2 separate regions of the Homo sapiens genome follow, and region 1 is linked to region 2. The links are contacts of gene promoters, found by promoter capture Hi-C in blood cells and fetal thymus (Javierre and others, 2016). All regions are on one chromosome and are shown on one strand. Each heading gives the region's core, a stretch centred on a gene start or on the middle of the fragment in contact. The rest is flanking DNA. Distances are from core to core; before and after follow the strand shown. Region 1 overlaps USP34 (ubiquitin specific peptidase 34). Region 2 holds the start of FAM161A (FAM161 centrosomal protein A).

Region 1 (4,611 bases), core at 592-3,091, 420 kb after region 2:
TCTGTGTGGACACAGTAATGTAGTTTCTTCATCTGTAATCTGTACTAGTGACATTTGAGAGTTTCTCAGCAGCCTAGGATGAGGAAGTGTGTGGTGCAGCTTTGCCAGGGGGGTTGGCTCATTGGGCTGTTTCTCAAGTCAGGGACACATGTATGCATATGGTGAGTTGGCCAACTTGGGGTCTGGCTTGCTGGGGTTGAAGCCACAGGACTGTTACTCTGGCCAGGAGCACAGGCATGTGGTTGCTCAATTGGCTTGGTGTTGTGCCTGGCAGGAGTGGCCCATGGTTTCTCAGGTCTAGGACACAGGTGCACAACTGCTCAGCCAGCCTAGATGTGTCTGTCAGGTGTTGCCCATTGGGCTGTTTCTTAGGACTGGGATGTGGGCTCTTGGCTGCCTGGCTGGCCTGGGGGGATGCCCATCAGGGACGACCTGTGGTAATGTTTCTGAGGCCCTTATTGGGGGCGCAGGGCTGTTCGGGAGGCCAGAAGCATGTCTACATGGGGCAGAGGTGCTAGGAGCCTTTTTCTTAGGCACTGAGTAAGGGTGCATGGCTGCTTCACTAACCTTGGGGTGTATCACATGCTCTTTGGCTTGCGGGCCTCCACTACTTTGGAGAGAGCTTATAGTGGCTTGGTTGGCTTATGGGCAGGTTTGTCCTGGATGGGACTGTCAGACTGTTCCTTTGGCTTGAAGTGTGGTCTGGTTGTGGGAGTTGGTTTTCCCTGCTGTGCGGGACCAAAGTTGCAGCTATAGTTGTGGCATTCATTCACCTGTGTGGCCTTGGTGTAATGAAGATGGAGCTGAAGTGCTGCAGAGGTGCAGTGGCTACTGGCCCCCAGAGGGTGCACTCCAGAGGTGGCTCTGGTTTCAAGATGGTGTTGCACTGCCACAGCTTGTTTCACTGGGGGTAGGTGGGGGTTGGGGAGCACATTCCTTGTGCTCCTAATTTGGGCAGTGCAGCTGTATGGATTTCCAGCAGTTGTCTAAATTGGGCTCAGGGCTTGCAAGGACTGTGGGATTCTCCTTTTTATTTTATTTATAGTTTTTGAGATGGAGTCTTACTCTGTTGCCCAGGCTGGAGTGCAGTGGCACGATCTTGGTTCACTGCAACCTCTGCCTCCTGGGTTCAAGTGATTCTCCTGCCTCAGCCTCCTCAGTAGTTGGGATTACAGGCACCCACCACCACGCCCGGCTAATTTTTATATTTTTAGTAGAGATGGGGTTTCACCTTCTTGGCCAGGGTGGTCTTGAACTCATGACCTCAAGTGATCCGCCTGCCTCAGCTCCTCAAAGTGCTGGGATTACAGGCATGAGCCACCGCACCTGGCCGATTCGCCACTTGTAAGGAGTGTAGGTGTTTGTGGTGGTAATGGGAGTGCTGGTGAGGGATCTTCTGCTTACTTTTTCCCTGCATCAGGAAGTCCCTGCTGACTGCAGGCAAATCCCATCTGGGTGAGGGGAGATGGGGCTGCAGAGGCTGGATGCTTCCATACTGCCTTCCTGGACTTTGTCACCAACAGGTGTGTCTCCATTCCCCAACTGCACTCAGATGGTCTCTCTGACACACCTGTCAGATCTTAGCTGTTTATTTGTTAACCTTTGTCCTTTCTTGTGTGTAGGATGAATGCTAGGTGTCTTTAGTCAGTCTCCCTGATTCTTTTTTTAATATTCTTCATAACTTTGCTGGAATTCTTCAGCTTATCTAATATCTTGAATGTATTACCTATTGTAACTAATATCTTAATCTTCTGTTTTATTGTTCTCTTATTTTCACCCTTGTTTCTGGCTATGTGGTATGTGGTCTTGGTTTTTGGTTCTCTGGTCATTGTAGAAAGTTTTAGATATCTAGAGTCATGTGCAGAAATGGGAAAGTTTATGGGCAGTGAACACTTATGTACCCATCACCCAGTCAACATTTACCAACTCATGGGTAGTTTTTTTTTTCACCTTACCTTATCCATTGTCTCTCTCCCACCCACTGGATTAGCTTGAAGTAAATCCAGGTGTTATATATTATCTGTATATATTTAAATATATTAAAATAACCATTTAGCATTTAAAAATTTTAAAGATGGGGTCTTGCTGTGTTGCCCAGGCTGGCCTAGAACTCTTGAGCTCAAACAGTCCTCTCACCTCAGCCTCCTGAATAGTTGGAACTAGAGACACACACCACTGTGTCCAGCTTTGTTTGTTTACGTATTTATGAGACAGGGTCTCACTCTGTCACCCAGGCTGGAGTGCAGTGGCATGCTCCTGGTTCACTGCAGCCTTGACCTCCTGGGGCTCAAGCTGTCTGCCCACCTCAGCTTCCTGAGTAGCTAAGACTGTAGGTACGGGATATTATGCCCAGCTAATTTTTGTCTTTTTTTTGTAGAGATGGGGTTTTGCCATGTTATCCAGGCTGGTCTTGAACGCCTGAATTCAAGCCATCTGCCCACCTTGGCCACTCAAAGTGCTAGGATTACAGGAAAATGTCACTACATTCCATTTTTTTTTTTTAATTGAAAAACGGTGGGTTCTGTCTAAGTTGCCCAGGCTGGTCTCAAACACCTGGGCCCAAGCAAATCTTGCCTTGGCCTCCCAAAGTGCTGTGATTACAGGCGTGAGCTGCTACCCCTGGCCATGGTCTGTTTTTTGTTATTTTAAATTCATACGTAATTCTTATACATATTTATAGGGTACAGCATGCTATTTCAATACCTTTATATGATGTGTAATGATCAAATTGGGGTAATTATTGTTATCTCAAGCATTTATCATTCTTTGTGTTGGGAACATTCAAAATCCTCTCTGCTATTTATTTATCTTTTATTTATTTATTTTTTTGAGATGGAGTCTTGCTCTTGTTGCCCAGGCTGGAATGCAGTGGTGCGATTTCAGCTCACTGCAACCTCCGCCTCCCGGGTTCAAGTGATTCTCCTGCCGCGGGTCTCAAGTAGCTGGGATTACAGGCGCCTAACACCATGCCCGGCTAAGTTTTTGAATTTTAGTAGAGATGGGGTTTCACCAGATTGGCCAGGCTGGTCTCGAACTCCTAACCTCAGGTATTCCACCCACTTGGCCTCCCAGAGTGCTGGGATTACAGGTGTGAGCCACCACGCCCGGCCAGCCTCTGCTAGCTAAAATGTCAGATTATTAACTATAGTAATCCTAAAGCCAGGATCAGTGACTCATGTCTGTAATCCCAGTGCTTTGGGTGGCTGAGGCAGAAGGATCACTTGAGGCCAGGAGTTAGTGACCAGTGTGGGCAACACAGCAAGACTCCATCTCTACAAAAAGTTTAATTAATAATTAGTTGAGTGTGGTGAAATGCACCTGTAGTCTCAGCTACTTGGGAGGCTGAGGCAAGTGGATTGTTTGAGCCCAGGAGGTCCAGGCTGCAGTAAGCTGTGATTGTGCCACTGCATTCCAGCCTGAGTGACAGAGCTAAATCTCTTCTCTAAACAAACAAAAACCTGATAAAGCTCCAAAGAACAACAAAAACAAAAAAATAGTCATCCTGCAGTACTATAAAACACTAGAATGTATTCCTCCTGGCTAGGTATAATTCTCTGTTCATTAACCAATCTCTCCCTACATTCCTCTTCTCTAACCTTTCCAGTGTCTAGTTGTGTAAATTTCTTTAGTTTTCGTTTCATTTCATTTCGTTTCATTTCTTTTCTATTTTTCTTTTTTTAAAGAATAGGGGTCTTGTTGCCCAGGCTTCAGTGCAGGGGCGCACGATCATAGCTCACTATGAGCCTCAAACTCCCAGGCTCAAGTGATCCTCTCTTCTCAGCCTCCCAAGTAGCTGAGATTACAGGCTTGCACTACCATGCCCAGTTAATTATTTTATTTTTTGTAGCGAAGGGGTTGCCCAGGGTGGTCTTGAACTCCTGGCCTCAAGGGATCTCTTGCCTCGGTCTCCCAAGAGTAATTTCTTAATACGAAATAGCATTCAATTTCCCTTATATTCTCAGTTTTAAAAAATTCTACCTTTTCCTTCACAATTTGAATCAAGATTCACATGAGACCTATTAGAATTGCTGATTTTAAAAATTAACTAAATTGTTATATAATTTACATACAATAAGGTTAGTCTATTGTAAGGGTATGTGTTTATTCATTTTGACAAATGTATACACTCATATAAGAACCACAATTGAACATTTCCATCACCCAGTTATTCCTCATTCCTGTTTGTAATCAGCCCCACCACCAACTCTGCATTGTCGTAACTGCTGATGTGCTTTGTCACCTAAGCTTTATTTTTAAATGTATTTTATTATTATTATTTTTTGAGACAGTCTTGCTCTGCCACCCAGGCCGGAGTGCAATGGCACGATCCTGGCTCATTGCAACCTCTGCCTCCTGGGTTCAAGTGATTCTCCTGCCTCAGCCTACTGAGTAGCTGGGATTATGGGCATGTGCCAGCACGCCTGGCTAATTTTTGTATTTTTTTTTTCTTTTCTTTTTTTTTTTTTTTTGTGACGAAGACTCGCTCTGTCGCCCAGGCGGGAGTGCAGTGGCACGATCTTGGCTCACTGAAAGTTCCGCCTCTCGGGTCCACGCCATTCTCCTGCCTCAGCCTCTCGAGTAGCTGGGACTACAGGTGCCCACCACCACGCG
Region 2 (5,295 bases), core at 613-3,112:
TGGACATTTAAACTTAAGAAACGGATGTGGAAAATATTAATGCAGAGTAAACTTAAAAGTTTGTGTTATCTGTAGCCTTTACATTGTGACTTGCAGAAAAAATTAAGAAAAATTATTCCAGTGTTAGAAAATGATTATCTATTTCAGCAAAGAAGTTGCTCATAACATTGACAAGTGAAATTCTGACATAGATCTTGGATATGTCACTCTCATCTTAATCACAAATAAAAACAAAAATATTAACCAACATTCATGTTGGAACTAGGTTGTTAAACAATTGCAACCATAAGTTGGCCACAAATACAGGAGTACAGCATAAACCAACGAAAGCATTCTGAGAGAAGCAATTGTCTATGAGGAATTTACAGTAAAGAGAATAGGATATTTCATTATTTATAATTCATCTGCTATAATTCCTTATCAATACTTTTGTTGGTGGTGGTGGTGGTGAGACGGAGTCTTGCTTTATTGCCCAGGCTGGAGTGCAGTGGCGCCATCCCGGCTCACTGCAACCTCCGCCTCCCGGGAGTGCGCCTGTAATCCCAGCTACTCCGGAGGCTGAGGCAGTTTTGTAGCCACAAAACTGGCTGCCGTGTCTGACTGGAAATTGCTCCCCTGGAAACTTGGCCACACCTGGCGGTGCATATCTCATGGTTCTGGCTCTGGCTTCTGCTTAGAACCCAGTCAGCATCTGTTCCAGCATGGGAAGCAACTGTTCAGCTAAAACCAAGAGCAGCCTGAAGGAAGTGGGGACGTAGGAGACTTTGTAGGTGCTCACACCCAGACAGGAGAACAAAGGTTTGGTAAGGGCTCAGACCTTAGAGACGGGTTCTCGACGATGTGCAGCGCATAACGAGGAAAATACTGACCGGAGGGGGCCGGTCGTAGGGCTGGGGAGCAGGAGGAGGGCAAAGGATAGAGAGGGGGTAGATAGGGAGTAGATAGGGGGCGGCAGCCTCGGCCTCAGTAAGCAGGGGCTCAGGGAGCAGATGTCTGAGACTGCACCACGTCCGCTATTTTGAGGTTTGGCTTCTCTTACTGCCACGTGGTGCAGAGGGAAGGCGCCATTTGATGCGTCCAAATCCCGAGTGGGAAGAGAAGATACGGATGAGGGAGATGGATGTGTCTGTGGTGACTCTTGGGCACTTGTGCCGTTCAATCCTGTCACTCTCAAGCTGAAGAACCCAAAGCAAACGCCAGGTTTACAATACCTGCACTATCACTCATTAGTGGGAGGGTCAGGCGCCACCCAACTCTGGGCTTTTATTGGTCATGTCAAGAAAAAAGCGAGAGGGACAACTGGGAGCCTCCTTCTGATTGGTGGATTCCTGCTAGCCCTCAAGTCAATCAGAGTAGAATGTACCGCCCTCCTTCCCACTCTGGCCCCCGCGGGAGACATGTTAGGTAGCGGGACGCCAACCTTGTCACTCTTCTGAGACCGCCACCCAGTAACACGCCCTGCTTTCCTCCGCCGCCGCCGTCTCCTCCATCAACTGTCTCCTTCTAACATGTTATTGCAGTTAATAAAAAAGCGTTCTTTTCTTCACAAAAGCAGTTGTTTCATTGTATAATGTGAGAAGTCTGCGTTCAGGCGGTTAGACGCAAAGGAGTGGAATAAGTGCCCTGTTCAGCCTGCCAACCTTCGGAACCAGCCAACAGACTCGGTACTGACTGCCATGATCCAGTAAGCACCCGACTCGGGTCTCTGGCAGCCTGAGTGGATTTTGCGTGACTTTTGGTCCCTGGCGGCTCCTGTAGCGTCCCCAGTTACGGCGCCCATAGCAACCGGCTCCCTAGCTAGGCGCCCCCGGGTTGCCAGGGGCCGCACCAGCTTTCCCGTCCCGGGCCAGCGCAGGCGCTCAGGCCTCGGAGGCGGGGCGATGGCCACCTCCCACCGAGTGGCGAAGCTGGTGGCCTCCAGTCTCCAGACCCCGGTAAATCCCATCACTGGAGCGCGGGTCGCCCAGTACGAACGCGAAGACCCCTTAAAGGCCCTGGCGGCAGCGGAGGCGATCTTGGAGGACGAAGAGGAGGAGAAAGTGGCTCAGCCCGCTGGGGCATCGGTAATACTGGGGCGGGACTTGGGCTGGGACCTCGCATGGGCTGGGTGCAGGCTGAGGGCTGTCCGGTTCCCCGCCCAGCTGAGGGCAGGCTGGTAAACGCGGGTCCCTGTGCACATAGTCCCTACTTGGTGGTCCTGGCCCAGCCCCTTCTCTACGCTCACGAAAATTACTCTAAATCGAGGCGTTGAAAAGTGTTTTAATTTTCACCAGTCTGTTGTAAAAGCTTCCTAGACAACATTTATGTTACTCTGCTTCTGGCAAGTGCAAAGTATAGAATTTTACTCTCTACTCTCCAGCATCTCGGGAATGGATATATAGAGATATATCTGGCTATATATAGTAATTTGAGGAAAACTGTTCTGTCAGGTGTGTTTCGTTATTACCTTAAGATCTTGGTTATAAGCGGATCTCAACATAGTGCTCTAAAGATGTGTGTTTAAAACCATCACGTGTTCACTGGCTAAATCAGACACGGATACAGATAAGCAAATCACTGAGGTTTCAGTGTTTCCTAAACAGCTCTTTAGGGTACAGCGAGACGGCCTTTTCACTGATCAGTTTTCATTGTTAAATCTGTTGTGGACACCAGTCCAGCAGGTAGAGGGCAGGGTCTGCCATCTGCTCAATTCACTTAAAAGATGGGAATCTTGGCCGGGCGCGGTGGCTCGTGCCTATAATCCCAGCACTTTGGGAGGCCGAGGTGGGCGGGTTACGAGGTCAGGAGTTCGAGACCAGCCTGACCAACATGGTGAAACCCCGTCTGTACTAAAAATACAAAATTTAGCCGGGCGTGGTGGTGCGCCCCTGTAATCCTAGTTACTCGGAAGGCTGAGGCAGGAGAATCGCTTGAACTTGGGAGGTGAGGGTTGCAGTGAGCTGAGATCTCAGACCCAGTCTCAAAAAAAAAAAAAAAAAAAAAAGATGGGAATCTTGAATTTAAACTAGCAATCTGCAGATAGAAAAAATTTCCTAATACCATGTGTCCAAAGCTTCTCAGACACCAAACTTATGATTGAGGACTAACTGAAATCACTGGATATTTTGGAATTCTGATCTCTTTAATCTACAGTAAAATTGTTAATGAGAACATCTTTAGCAACACCTTTTGTGACCAATCTTTCACCAACAGACAAACAACTTGAAGTTATCCAGAGTAAGGCAGACTGAGACCCTGAACATGAACCAGGATCAGAGTGCTAGGACCGATTTTGTTCATGATGAAGCTACCCCTCAACACAATTTTCAGTAGGCAACAAGGCAACGTGATGGAGAAAAAGGATTGAAGAGTTCTGTATTAGGATCCATTCCCTGCCACTTCCTAGGTGGTGTTAGGACATAATTTCCTTAAACCTCAGTTTCCTTATCTGTAAAATAACTATAATAATTGTCTCTTTTTTCCCATCTCAGCTCTATGAGAACCAAATGAAAGAATGTGTGTCTCCTCTAAAGAGCAATCTATGTAAATGAGTTGCCAGTGGGAGTGTCATTTGTGTGCCTTCCCAAAGATTAAACTCAACTTTGGCTTGCTGTGGTAAAGGAGTCAGTCACTTCTAAGTTGCAGATATGCTTCCACAGTGCCCTGTTAAACTGCAAATTTGTGTTAGAAACTGTTATTACCTTAGGAGGGATCAGTTTATACAATAATCTAGTTTGGAAAGGACAGGATCCTACAAAAAAAAAAAGGAAGCCAAGTCTTAAGAGTTTGGTACTGTTCTGAGACCACCACACATGAGGGATCCAAAAGTAAAGCTGGGTAAGCTGCCACAGTGGGCCTGATAGCCAGGGGGCACAGGCTGGGGGAAGAGGCATTAAGAAGGCAGGAAGAGTGCAGGAAATAGGCTCTGCTTTCTTCACTGGTTGGCTTGGGTCTCCATCTTGATTTTTAAAGGTTAATTTGCCTTAACCTTATTATCTATAAAATGTAGTAAAGTCAAATATTATACCTAACCCACAAGATTGATTTGAGAACCACCCATCACAATAGGCCTCTTTCAGCTCTTTGGTTTTGCCAAAGCCAGACCACTCATCCCACCCCACACTGCCCCCCAACCCCCCAACCCCTGCACCATCCCTATACACCCTCCCAGCTCTGGCATACACACGCACCCCCCTTGCAGTGCCCATATTGGGCACTGATGCCTGTTCCTTGAATCTAGCCTTAGTCAGAGATGTTGGTCCACATATCCTGTTATATGACTGATGATGACACAGGTAACGCAGTATTCTGTAATTCGCAATTAAAATCTCACTCCTCCCAGCACTTTGGGAGGCTGAGGCAGGTAGATCACTTGAGGTCAGGAGTTTGAGGCCAGCCTGGCCAACATGGCAAAACCCGGTCTCTACTAAAAATACAAAAAGTAGCCGGACGTGGTGGCACGCGCCTGTAATCCCAGCTACTAGGGGGCGCTGAGGCAGAATTGCCTGAACCCGGGAGGCGGAGGTTGCAGTGAGCTGAGATGCAAAAACTGCACTCCAGCCTGGGCAACAGAGTGAGACTATGTCTCAAAAAAATAAATAAATAAAAAGAAAAAATAAAATCTCACTCCTAATGGGGCAACCTTATCTTTTCAACAAATATTGAACATTTATTAAGTGCTAGTCATTAACTATTCAGTGTATATATAGCTCACATCCTCACAGAATTTTCAGTCTGGTGAGGGAAATCAGACAATTAAAAATGAACAGGGCCGGGCGCGGTGGCTCACATCTGTAATCCCATCACTTTGGGAGGCTGAGGTGGGTGGATCACCTGAGGTTGGGAGTTCAAGACCAGCGTGACCAACATAGAGAAACCCCATCTCTACTAAAAATACAAAATTAGCCGGGCGTGGTGGCACATGCCTGTAATCTCAGCTACTCAGGAGGCTGAGGCAGGAGGATCGCTTGAACCCGAGAGGTGGAGGTTGCAGTGAGCCGAGATCACGCCATTGTATTCCAGCCTGGACAACAAGAGCGAAACTCCATCTCAAAAAACAAAAAATGAACAGACACATAACTATAAGATGGGAAATGTTGGGAAAGAAATGAACAGCCTATAATGATTAAAAATAAATAGGAGAGAACCTATTGTTTTTCTTCTGACTCCACTTTTTATTTATTATTTTTTGAGACAGAGTTTCACTCTCTTGTCCAGGCTGGAATGCACTGGTGCAGTCACAGGTCACTGCAGTCTCAACCTCCCAGGATCAATCAATCTCCTCACCTCAGCCTCCCAAGTAGCTGGAACTAAAGG

The links. Contacts are between HindIII fragments. The CHiCAGO score rates a contact against its expected background, and 5 or more counts as called.
Region 1: a fragment that was not itself captured here is called in contact with the fragment with the promoter of FAM161A in region 2 in 2 of 17 cell types (M1 macrophages and naive CD4 T cells); the score reaches 5.5 in M1 macrophages.

Annotation. Positions count from the first base shown.
Region 1 is chr2:61,430,073-61,434,683 of GRCh38, reverse strand. The region is part of intron 1 of USP34 (ubiquitin specific peptidase 34); the gene reads left to right. Among named protein-coding and RNA genes, the nearest start is that of SNORA70B, 15 kb to the right of the region's middle. RefSeq lists a silencer at 4,450-4,611. The HindIII fragment of the contact is 4,812 bases long and covers 1-4,247 here.
Region 2 is chr2:61,850,627-61,855,921 of GRCh38, reverse strand. It overlaps FAM161A (FAM161 centrosomal protein A), which reads left to right and starts at 1,862. Exons shown (of 7, transcript NM_001201543.2): 1 at 1,862-2,063. The coding sequence starts at 1,881. RefSeq lists enhancers at 669-718, 1,459-1,688, 1,929-2,088, 2,249-2,378. The HindIII fragment of the contact is 5,666 bases long and covers 1-2,288 here.